Linked DNA regions of Homo sapiens: region 1 is linked to region 2. Evidence: promoter capture Hi-C in human tissues and cell types (Jung and others, 2019). All regions are on one chromosome and are shown on one strand. Each heading gives the region's core, a stretch centred on a gene start or on the middle of the fragment in contact. The rest is flanking DNA. Distances are from core to core; before and after follow the strand shown. Region 1 overlaps TBC1D9B (TBC1 domain family member 9B). Region 2 holds the start of MAML1 (mastermind like transcriptional coactivator 1).

Region 1 (5,440 bases), core at 486-2,985, 150 kb after region 2:
TTTATTGTATATCTTAAAAATGTTACTCTGTATAATCTCAGCACTCTGGGAGGCTGAGGCAGGTGGATCACCCTAGGTCAGGAGTTCGAGATCAGTCTGGCCAACATGGTGAAATCTCAACCCCATCTCTACAAAAAATACAAAAATTAGCCAGGCATGGTGGCACATACACGTAGTCCCAGCTACTCACGGGCCTGAGGCACAAGACTGCTTGAACCTGGGAGGCAGAGGTTGCAGTGAGCCGAGATTGTGCCACTGCACTCCAGGAGACACCCTCCCCAACCCCCAACAAAAAGTTACTCTAAAATGTTGTTACTGTATCACAAAGTCTGATACCTCTCTTGAGGAGGAATCTCTCAGGATCGTGGCCCATTGCAACCTCCTTCTCCCACCTCCTGGGTTCAAGTGATTCTTGTGCCTCAGCCTCCCAAGTAGCTGTGATTCCAGGCATGTGCCACTATACCTAGCTTAGTTTTGTATTTTTAGTAGAGACAGAGTTTCACCATGTTGGCCAGGCTGGTTTTGAACTTCTGGCCTCAAGTGATCTGCCTGCTTCAGCCTCCCAAAGTGCTGGGATTACAGGTGTGAGCCACTGTGCCCAGCCTGGAATAATTTTTTAATCTTTAAAATTGAACAGTTTTATGAGATTTTATGTCAATATCGACTATTTTGTGTTGATTTTTCTAGACATTCAATGTGTCCTTCCACTATACAAGTTCAAGCTTATTTTATCAGTTTTCCTGAATCACAGTTTCTATTATCTGTTATTCCACTGCTTTTTTCTGGGAAGGGTGTGGGATGGCACTACGATTATACGTAAGTTTGATCTTCTTTGCCTAACTTCTTTATCCCTTCTCTGGACAACTTCTTCTCTATTTGTTTGAGTCTCCTCTGACTCCATTTTTCTCCTATCTCTTCCTTATTTACCTTAATGTATTTTCATTCTTGTGTTCCTGATTTTCATTTCAGAAATATCTGGTTTTTTTTTTCTTATTTCCTCCTGAGTCCTGTCAACTCTCTTCATATTTTTCTGTTGACTAGTCACTTTTAACCTGAGCTTTTTAAACATTTTTAATTTATACCATTCTTTAGTAGTTTCTGTCGTTTTTCTAATTCCTTTGAGATCACTCAGAAACATCAGGACACAGTTTTCATCTGCCTGGAGGAATGTTTTTCTGGTGTGCTTTCATTATCTGTGGGAGGTTATCTGGTTCACTTTCTCCCCGCAATATCTTTGTACAGGGTGTGATCAGCATCTTTTCCTGTTCTTTCAGCAGGATGTTCTACGTACGGGCAGTTGTGGGTCAGAGTAGCTTTCTGAACTCCACAGCTGGAGAGGCCTTTCCCCTGCTGTGGTCGGTCTGTGTAGTCCTTGCTCCTGTACTTTCTGGGATTGGCCACCTCTTTCTTGTATCTAAAGCTTTTCTCCTTTACCCCAAGTGTTCCTGCTCTGTTCAATCCCAGTCCTTTTTTTCTTGGGGTGAGCTCTTGTCTTTCAGAAGAGAAGTTTTTGTTAAGGGCATGGGTTTCCCTCACATTCTTGATCTTTCCTCAGCCGTATAATACGTCAGGCAGCGATAAGGCTGTGGGTAGAAATAAAGCAGGATTTTGTGCTTCCATTAATAAAAAAAAGCCTCCTCTATAAACTGGAGCCTGAGAAATCGGCTCCCAATTTCACTGGCTGTCTCTCAGATTCACTTGTTGAGGTTTCCATTTGCTGAGTAGTCTCTTGTGAGGGGTATTCTGGTGACTTCTGGATTCCTTGGCTCTTAGGACTATCAGAGCCCCTCTTCCTTCCCGCCATTGCCTCAGCACAGCTACTGGCTCTGTGTCTGCACAGAGTCATGCCACAGTTGGTGGTCTGGCCTCCAACTGTGGTGCACAGTTGGTGGATAGAGCATAGCACGGAGGTTCCTTGAAATATTAAAAATAGAACTGCTATACAATCCAGCAATTCCACTCCAGGGTATGTCCCCAAAAGAACTGAAAGTAAAGATTCAAACAGACATCTGTACACCCATGTTCACAGCAGTGTTACTCATAATAGCCATGAGGTGGAAGCAGTCCAAGTTTCAACAGTGAACAAAACGTGGCTTATCCATACAATGGCATATGATTCAGCCTTAAAAAAGAAATCTTGAGCACGCTACAACAGGGATGAACCTGGAGGACATCACGCTGAATGAAATAAGCCAGGCACAAAAGGGAAAATACTATATGCTTCCACTTATGTGCATTACCTAGAATAGTTCAATTCAAGTCAAAAAGGTAGAATGGTGCTTGCCAGGGGCTGGGGGAGTGGGGGCTGAGGAGTTACTGTTTAATGGGTTCAGAGTTTCAGTTTTGCAAAACTGAAAAAGTTCTGTGGATGGATGGTGGTGATGGCATAGCAATGTCAATGTACTTAATGGTAAATGTTGTTATGTGTATTTTATCACAATAGCGTCTCCTGAATCTGACCCCTTCTTACACCTACACTGTTCCTACCCTTGATGCTCGACTCCATCATCTTGTGCCCCTGCTTCTGTGATGGGCTCCAGCCGGCCTCCTTGCTTCTATTCTTGCCACTCTCTAGTCCAGCACTGCCCAAGAGAGATGATGAGAGCCACAAATGTAATTGTAAATTTTCTAGTAGCCACATTGTAAAGTCCTAAAGTAAATTATTGAGATTAATTTTAACAATATATTTGACTTAATCCAATATATCCAAAATACTCGCATTTCAACAGGAATCAATTAAAAAATGATGGAGTGGCCAGGCACGGTGGCTCACCCCTGTAATCCCAGCACTTTGGGAGGCTGAGGCAGGTGGATCGCCTGAGGTCAGGAGTTCAAGACCAGACTGGCCAACATGGCAAAAACCCGTCTCTACTAAAAATACAAAATAAGCCGGGCGTGGTGGTGGACGCCTGTAATCCCAGCTACTCGGGAGGCTGAGGCAGGAGAATCACTTGAACCTGGGAGGCAGAGGATGCAGTGAGCCAAGACTGCCCCACTGCACTCCAGCCTAGGTGACAGAGCAAGACTCTGTCCCCCCCCCAAAAAAAAAAAGATGGAGGTATTTTACGTTTTTCTTTTCATACGAAGTCTCCAAAACCCGTGTACAGTGATCTGAACACTCACAGCACATTTCCATTGGCACCCGCTGGATTTCCAGTGCTCCATGGCCACACGTGGCTGCTGTACTAGACGGGGCACCTCTAATCCACTGTCAACATGGACGGCCACAGTAACCCCATTAACACGTAAACAGGTCGTGCCCTCCTCTGGTCATGACTCTTCACTGGCTTCCCCTCTCACCTGAAGTCAAAGCTGCAGCACTCACAGGGCCTACGGGCTTTCGGTGACTTGGCCTTCTGCCACCTCTCTGGTCTCACCTCCTACACCTGGTCAGTCTCCTAAGCCCTGGTCCCAGAAGCCCGTGCCACATCCAATCCTGTCTCCCAGCTTGCTGTGCTCTCTGCCTCCAACACCCTGCCCCAGACAGGCTATGGCTAGTTCCCCTGCTTCTTTCGAGTTTCTCCTCCAGTGCTGCCTGATCAGAGAGGTTGCCCATGAGCAACAGAGAGAAAATGGAGCCCCCTTCTTTCCCCTGGCACTCCTGATCCCCTCATCCTGCTTTATTTCTACCCACAGCCCTTATCACTGCCTGACATATTGTATGTTTATTTGCTTACTGCCTCCCTCACTGGAATACAGCTCTAAGTGAACAGGCACTCTGTCCGATGTGTTCACTGTTCTACTCCTGGGGCCTAGAATAGCAGCTGGCACCTAACAGGAATGCAATAAAATGTGTTTGGATGCATGAAGCCGAGTGCCTGGGAGGGGCCGTGAGTGGTGCTTACTCAGCTTTCAGGAAGTGTGGGGCCTCATGGAGGCAGAGGAGGCTCGACCACCCTGTTCACTGCCCCTGCCACTCAATCCAACTTCACTCTTTCTTGAAATCCCAGATGAAGCCCAACCTTCTCCACACCTTTCTTCATGTCTGCAATCCACATTGATTCCGCCCACCCCTTCCCATGCGCTCACTGACGTAGTAATTTATTTAGCATCTATTACTGGGGCAGACAATGTAAAGGTCTGCCTGGGCCAGACCACACACGGCTCTAGAGCATGGAGGACACGCACAGCCCCAGCTCCCACGCCCGCTGCCCAATGGGATGGGGCCTTTAGGGCTGGGCACTGACTTTTCTAGAGAAGCTGGATCTGTGAATTTGCATATGGACTCTTCTAATGGCCAAATGTTTTTGCAAATTCAGACTCAACGACAGCAGCAGCACATCCATCTTGTCACACCAGAAAGCAAGGAATCAAAGACGACCAGTGTCGTGCCCAGGGACTCTCAGGGCTAGACCAGATGAGCCCCTCTGGCCACAGACAGAATAAGCATAGTGATTCCAGTGGAAAGACACACATCAAGTTGCTTAAATCCATACGTTCATAATTACAATAAAAAGTAAACCAAAAAACTCACTGGTCACATGTGGAAGACACTAGAAAACCAACTCATCATTATTTTGACAACTGGTGAGTAAGAGGAAAGAGTAAAACATGTATTCCACCTTTCCTCTATGAACTGTGCCTGGGGTCAGCTTCCCTCTTTGGGAGAATTTCAGCTCCCAGACGAAAGGAGGAATGGAATGAGCATGCCGCTGGCCACTGGCCGCTGGATCCAGGCATATTCTCAATGACTGACAGTAGCATAGAGAGGTGGCTGGTTGCCAGACATCTCTTGTTGGGAATAAACAGCACCTCAAGCCTGCCCACAGGCGGACCTGCCAGAACCAAAATCAGCTGAGCCTGAATGTGATCACGGCTCTCGGTCTCACCGCTCAACCAACTTAAACAAGAGACACAGGAGCTTGCTAAACGCCTGCAGCGGATGCAATCAGCAAAACCAGACGATGAGAGACTCTATGGCACAAGTGACCGATTCCTTCAAAAAAATATTGTGGAAGAATAAACGAGAGCTAGGTGGAGCAGAAGCCCGTAGATTAAACAGATTTAAGAGACCTATCAACCAAGAGTGACATGTGTGACTTTCGTCTGCCTCAGTTCAAATAATCAAACCGTGAAAAGTACACTTGCACACGGGGAAGTGTGAATACAATATTTGGTGATATTAAGGAATTCTTGTTAAGTTTGCTGGTACAATAGTGATACTGCAGTTCTACCGTCAAGAACTTCAGCCTGAACGCCTGGCAGGGAAGGTCATGGGAACAAAGCCGAAGTGTACAGGCCTCCACAGTGTGGCTTTGCTCTGAGTGCAGCAGCAATGCAGAAAGGACAGCCAGAGAAGGTTCCTCATGGGCAATGGGCCCAGCAGGAGTGAGGAGTACCGGGTGTGTGGCTGGGGGTGCAGAGAGGCTGTGATGTTGCTGGGCAGTGTGGGTCTGGGCTAGGGGTCTCTTGCCAGCTCTGACACATCCACCCCTAGGCG
Region 2 (5,198 bases), core at 491-2,990:
GTGAGTTTGATGCAGTCTTTTCTGTCTAGCCCTTGCCTCTTCCTGCCCATGTGATTGCGGTGCAGTAGTTTCTGTTGTATAATAGTGTGGACAGCAGCTCAGAAAAGGAGGGAATGCTACTGATAATTTGTAGATAATATTCTTTAAGACTTAGGGGAACCATTGAACTTTGAAATTTTTATTAGAAAATTATTTGTTCAGAATCAGACTCCATTATTTTACATATACTTAAATACTTTAGGGGTATTTTTGAAAGTTAGCCCAGTTTTTTATGTGCTATTAAATTTTTAGATTACATACTAAAGAAAAGTATGTACACAGAATGTAGTGCTCCTAGTTACTATTTTTTCTATTAAGAAATAGTTTAGTTCTGGTGTAAAATTTGTTTGAATGCTAAAAAAAAAAAAGCAGGACTGCATTATGGCACTTTTGCCTTGGTGGCCCACTTTCTCCATTTAAAACATTAGGATTTGTATTTTTCTGCTGCGTTTGTATGAAGACATATTTGATTGTTGTTTTCTCTTGATTTTAAAATAAAACCTCATGAGCCCTAGTAAAAAGCTAGAGTAACGAATGTTTGAACTACTGATGGTGTATCTCAATGTGCAGCCTCCTGCCACCTCCTGCTTAACCTTTTAGCAATTAGAGTGCCCATATCTAGAGTTCCTGATATCCTTTGGCATCACACTATCTAGTTTTAGTACTAACACTGTTTGATTGCTCCAGTCCCTCTACTCCCCTTTGCCTATTAGTTTTAATAATGGGGCATAATTTGTCTTGGTTTGGTTTTGTTGAGTAACTCAGTTTTACCTAAAGGACTGTTTTTGGTCCGGCGCGGCGGCTCACGCCTGTAATCGCGGTACTTTGGCAGGCCGAGGTGGGCGGATCACCTGAGGTCAGGAGTGGGAGACCAGCCTGACCGACATGGAGACACCCCGTCTCTACTAAAAATACAAAATTAGCCGCGCGTGGTGGCGCATGCCTGTAATCCCAGCTACTGGAGAGGCTGAGGCAGGAGAATCGCTTGAGCCTGGAAGGCGGTGGTTGTGGTGAAACGTCGTCCTTTGCATTTCCAGTTCCCTCTAATGGAGCTGCACTCTTGCATGCTTTTGCTCACATCTTCTGGACTTTTTTTTTAAGTAGTGAGTAATACTGCACTTTTGAAACTTGCTCGGGCTTTTACAAATAGGTGGAAACTACCAGTGATTCGGAATGTTGCAAGAGGAAACTACCAGCTCACTAGACGATTCTGACCAATTATGGGGCTGGATACAAGGAATAAGGTCAAAGTAAAACGGCTGACATTAAAATAGCGTGGCTACTTAGAGTTTATCAAAGTCGAAATTTAAAAAATAATTTAAAAAAAAGGTCTCTGTACTGCCAGGCGGGCGACAGGGACTGGCCAGCTGCGCCGCACTCGCCTGCCAGATTCCCCTTTTCTCGGGGTAGCCGGAAGGGCCTGCCTTCAGCGGGTGCTGTGCAGGAAACCAATAGCCGCCTCTTGGACGGGCTCCTGTCAGTCACGCTTAGCTCCGCCCCCAGGATTAAGGCCCGCCCAGGGGCTTCCCTCCGCCCTTCGCTTGAGAATTCCTTTTAAATACCGCTCTGGCGCCCGAGCGCGCCTCTTGCGTGCTCGTCCCCACGCCCTCGGGCGGCCGGTTCTTCCTTCTCTGATTGGCCAGGGCCCCTGCTCATCAGTCGTGATGCACAAGGTCTCTTACCGAGGCCCCGCCTTCTTCCGAGAGGCCCGAAAACAATTTTAAGATGGCGGCCGCGGCGGTAGCGCGGAAAACAATGGGGCCGGGGCGGTGGGGAGAGGCCGAGGCTTGAGGTAGGCAGCAAGCGCCGGCTGGGGGTCGGGCCGAGCGGGGCAGGAGGAAAACCCGCCGCCGCGCGCGAGCCCGCTCCGCTGCCCTCGGGGGCATGGCGCGGCCGTGAGGCGGAGAGGGGTAGCCGCGGGGAGCGAAGCCCGCAGTGCCAGCCGGCCCCGAGAGGCCCGGCCCCGGGCCCGGCCCGTGCAGCCCGCGGCCCATGGTGCTGCCCACCTGCCCCATGGCGGAGTTCGCGCTGCCGCGGCACAGCGCGGTCATGGAGCGCCTTCGCCGGCGCATCGAGCTGTGCCGGCGCCACCACAGCACCTGCGAGGCCCGCTACGAGGCCGTGTCGCCCGAGCGCCTGGAGCTGGAGCGCCAACACACCTTCGCCCTGCACCAGCGCTGCATCCAGGCCAAGGCCAAGCGCGCCGGGAAGCACAGGCAGCCGCCCGCCGCCACGGCCCCGGCGCCCGCCGCCCCGGCCCCGCGCCTGGACGCCGCTGACGGCCCCGAGCACGGCCGCCCGGCCACGGTGAGTAGGGCGCGGGAAGGCGCTTGTCGTGGCGGCAGCCCCCTCTCCCGAAAACGCTTCCTCTGACGCGGATCGGGCCGCTGGGAGACTTCCCCAGGCGTCCGCGACTCCTGGATCTGGCTGGAGAGAGGGTAACATGGCAGGGAGCTGAGAGGTTGTCATCTTTGGGAAGTGGCACGGTGGCGTTACTTTGGGAAAACAGCGCCTTGAGGGCCTTGCAGGAGGCCCGACCTGGGAAGGCTGGCGAACGCTAACCGGAGGGTTTTTCTTCCAGACTTGATTCCGGGATGTTGAGATCTTTATTCGAAATAGACTAGCATTCGAGTCGCCTGTGATGGAGGGAGTTCCTGCACCGTAGGCCTGGCCTCATTTATTCTGCAAATGTTTATTGGGTCCTTGCCCTTTACAAGATCCTGTGCTGTGAGCAGGATCAGGGCTTTCATGTGGAAATAAGTCGGCCTTTGGTTGACCAACTGAAACTCCTCTGAATGGAAAATCAAGAAATTTTTGGAAAACTTAGTAAAATGTTCAATGAGTTGCATATAAGTATTCCTTGTTTAGGTAGCCTGAACTTTGTGAACTTGAGATTCCTGCAATATTGTTGACAATTCTAGTTTTAATTTATCAGGCCTGTTTAAAATCTCTGATGATGTTAGATTGTTGGTCAATTATTACTCCCTTTGGGCTCTCAGTAAATGTTCCTGAAATTTGTTGGTTAGAGGTTTTTCTTCCTGAAACAGATTTACAAAAGAGACAAGGTTTTTCAGTGGTTTTCTTGGGGATTTTAGTTTAAAACCAATGTTAAAATCTAATTTGTTATGTGTATTTTTAAATTCATACCTTTATTATCTCTCACCTGGGCTATTGCAGTGCCTGTCCCTAGCTAACTAACCAGTCTGTAGGCATTTAGTTTCTTTCTCCCTTATTCTCGAAATGCTGGAAATCCTTCTCTTGCTTGAAAGGATGAAGTTCAAAGTCTTTAGTTTGGCATTTGGGACCAGTCTGACCTAACCTATCTTTTAATGTCCCTCACAGGTCCTCTGCTCTGGTTGAATTATTTTTCTCATTCTCTTCCACACTAGCCTCGATTGCTGGGTTAGAAGAAAAAAAACCACTCAGATTTCATTGCTTATTGTATCAACTGGTCAAGCCTTCTCATCTTCACTTTTCTCATCTGTAAACTAGGGGCATGTTGGGCTTATTATCGCCCCGTGTTCTTTCCCTGCCCTCCCCTCACTCTGTCGCCCAGGCTGGAGTGCAGAGGCACAGTCATGTCTCACTGCAGCCTCAACCTTCCTGGCTCAAGACTCCTCAATCCTCCCGCCTCAGCCTCCTCAGTCCTCCCGCCTCAGCCTCCTGAGTAACTGGGATCAACCACAGCTGCACATCACCATGCCTGGCTAAATAAAAAAAGTTTTTTTTCTGTTAGAGATGGGGTCTCACTATATTGCCTAGGCTGGTCTTGAACTCCTGGGCTCAAGTGATCCTTTCTTCCAACTTGATCTCTGAAAGTGCTGAGATTATAGGCATGAGCCACCGCACCGTGCCGCCCCCAGGATTCTTTTAAGAATAAAAAGAAATGAGTGTGGACATGAAAATACAGTATTTCGGGGGAAGGGATAGCATTGGGAGATATACCTAATGCTAGATGACGAGTTAGTGGGTGCAGCGCACCAGCATGGCACATGTATACGTATGTAACTAACCTGCACATTGTACACATGTACCCTAAAACTTAAAGTATGATAATAATAAATAAATAAATAAAATACAGTATTTCATAAATTTAAAGGCCGCCTGTGGGACCCTCCTCCATCCCTTTCAGAATCCTGCCACCCTGCCAGTCCCAGCTTATCTCTTTCTTCTGCCTTAAAGCTAGTTCCTGACCAGCCTAACCCACAGCAGTAAGAATCTCCTTTGTCAAAACATTTAGGAAACATATTATCTATGCTATTTGTTTTATTTATTTATTTATTTTGAGATGGAGTCTTGCCCTGTTGCCCAGGCTGGAGTGCAATGGCGCGATCTAGGGTCACAGCAATCTCCGCCTCCCAGGTTCAAGTGATTCTCCTGCCTCAGCCTCCCTACTAGCTGGGATTACAGGTGCTGGCCACCATGCCCAGCTAATAATTTTTGTATTTTTAGTAGAGATGGGGTTTCACCATGTTGACCAGGCTGGTCTCGAACTCCTGACCTCAGATAATCCACCCACCTCGGCCTCCCAAAGTGCTGGGATTACAGGTGTGAGCCACTGCACCTAGCCTATTTATTTTTTTTTGAGACAGCGTCTCGCCCTGTCACCCAGGCTGGAGTGTAGTGACATGATTTCTGCTCACTGCAACCTCTGCCTCCCCGGTTCAAGCGATTCTCCTGCCTCAGCTTCCTGAGTAGCTGGGATTACAGGCGCACACTACCACGCTTGGCTTATTTTGGTATTTTTAGTAGAGACAGGGTTTCTCCTTGTTGGGCAGGCTGGTCTCGAACCCCTGACCTCGTGATCCACCCACCTCGGCCTCCCAAAGTGCTGGGATTACAGGCGTGAGCCACCGCGCCCGGCCTATGCTATTTATTTTTAGCACATGGTCACTTGTTACTTTAGGTCGCATCTTTTCAACTAGACTGTCAGCTCTTGGAGGCAGGGAGGGCTCACACTTGGGTAGTACACATCTGAGGTGCATCTTAAGTGCCTGTTTGTTGAATTATTGATAGAAACTTGGTAGTGCTTTACTCAGTAATCTCTCCTCCTATACACTAACTTCAAAAAGCAAGTTGATGTAACTTCATGAGCCACCTTTCATGGCTCATAGTAACAACTCTTGTAAGGAGGGACTTTTGTTATTTTTTTTTAGGGA

Evidence for each region. The method cuts DNA at HindIII sites, captures the fragments that hold promoters and counts their contacts. A contact is called where the count stands out against the background at its distance.
Region 1: a contact is called between a fragment that was not itself captured here and the fragment with the promoter of MAML1 in region 2, in 1 of the 25 tissues and cell types used here (aorta).

What each region holds. Positions count from the first base shown.
Region 1 is chr5:179,882,555-179,887,994 of GRCh38, forward strand. The region is part of intron 7 of TBC1D9B (TBC1 domain family member 9B); the gene reads right to left. Among named protein-coding and RNA genes, the nearest start is that of TBC1D9B, 23 kb to the right of the region's middle. The HindIII fragment of the contact is 4,139 bases long and covers 1-3,805 here.
Region 2 is chr5:179,731,082-179,736,279 of GRCh38, forward strand. MAML1 (mastermind like transcriptional coactivator 1) reads left to right here and starts at 1,741. Exons shown (of 5, transcript NM_014757.5): 1 at 1,741-2,346. The coding sequence starts at 2,032. It overlaps CANX (calnexin), which reads left to right. Exons shown (of 15, transcript NM_001746.4): 15 at 1-560. RefSeq lists enhancers at 1,284-1,383, 2,145-2,645 and silencers at 1,834-2,033, 2,274-2,333. The HindIII fragment of the contact is 20,196 bases long and covers 1-5,198 here.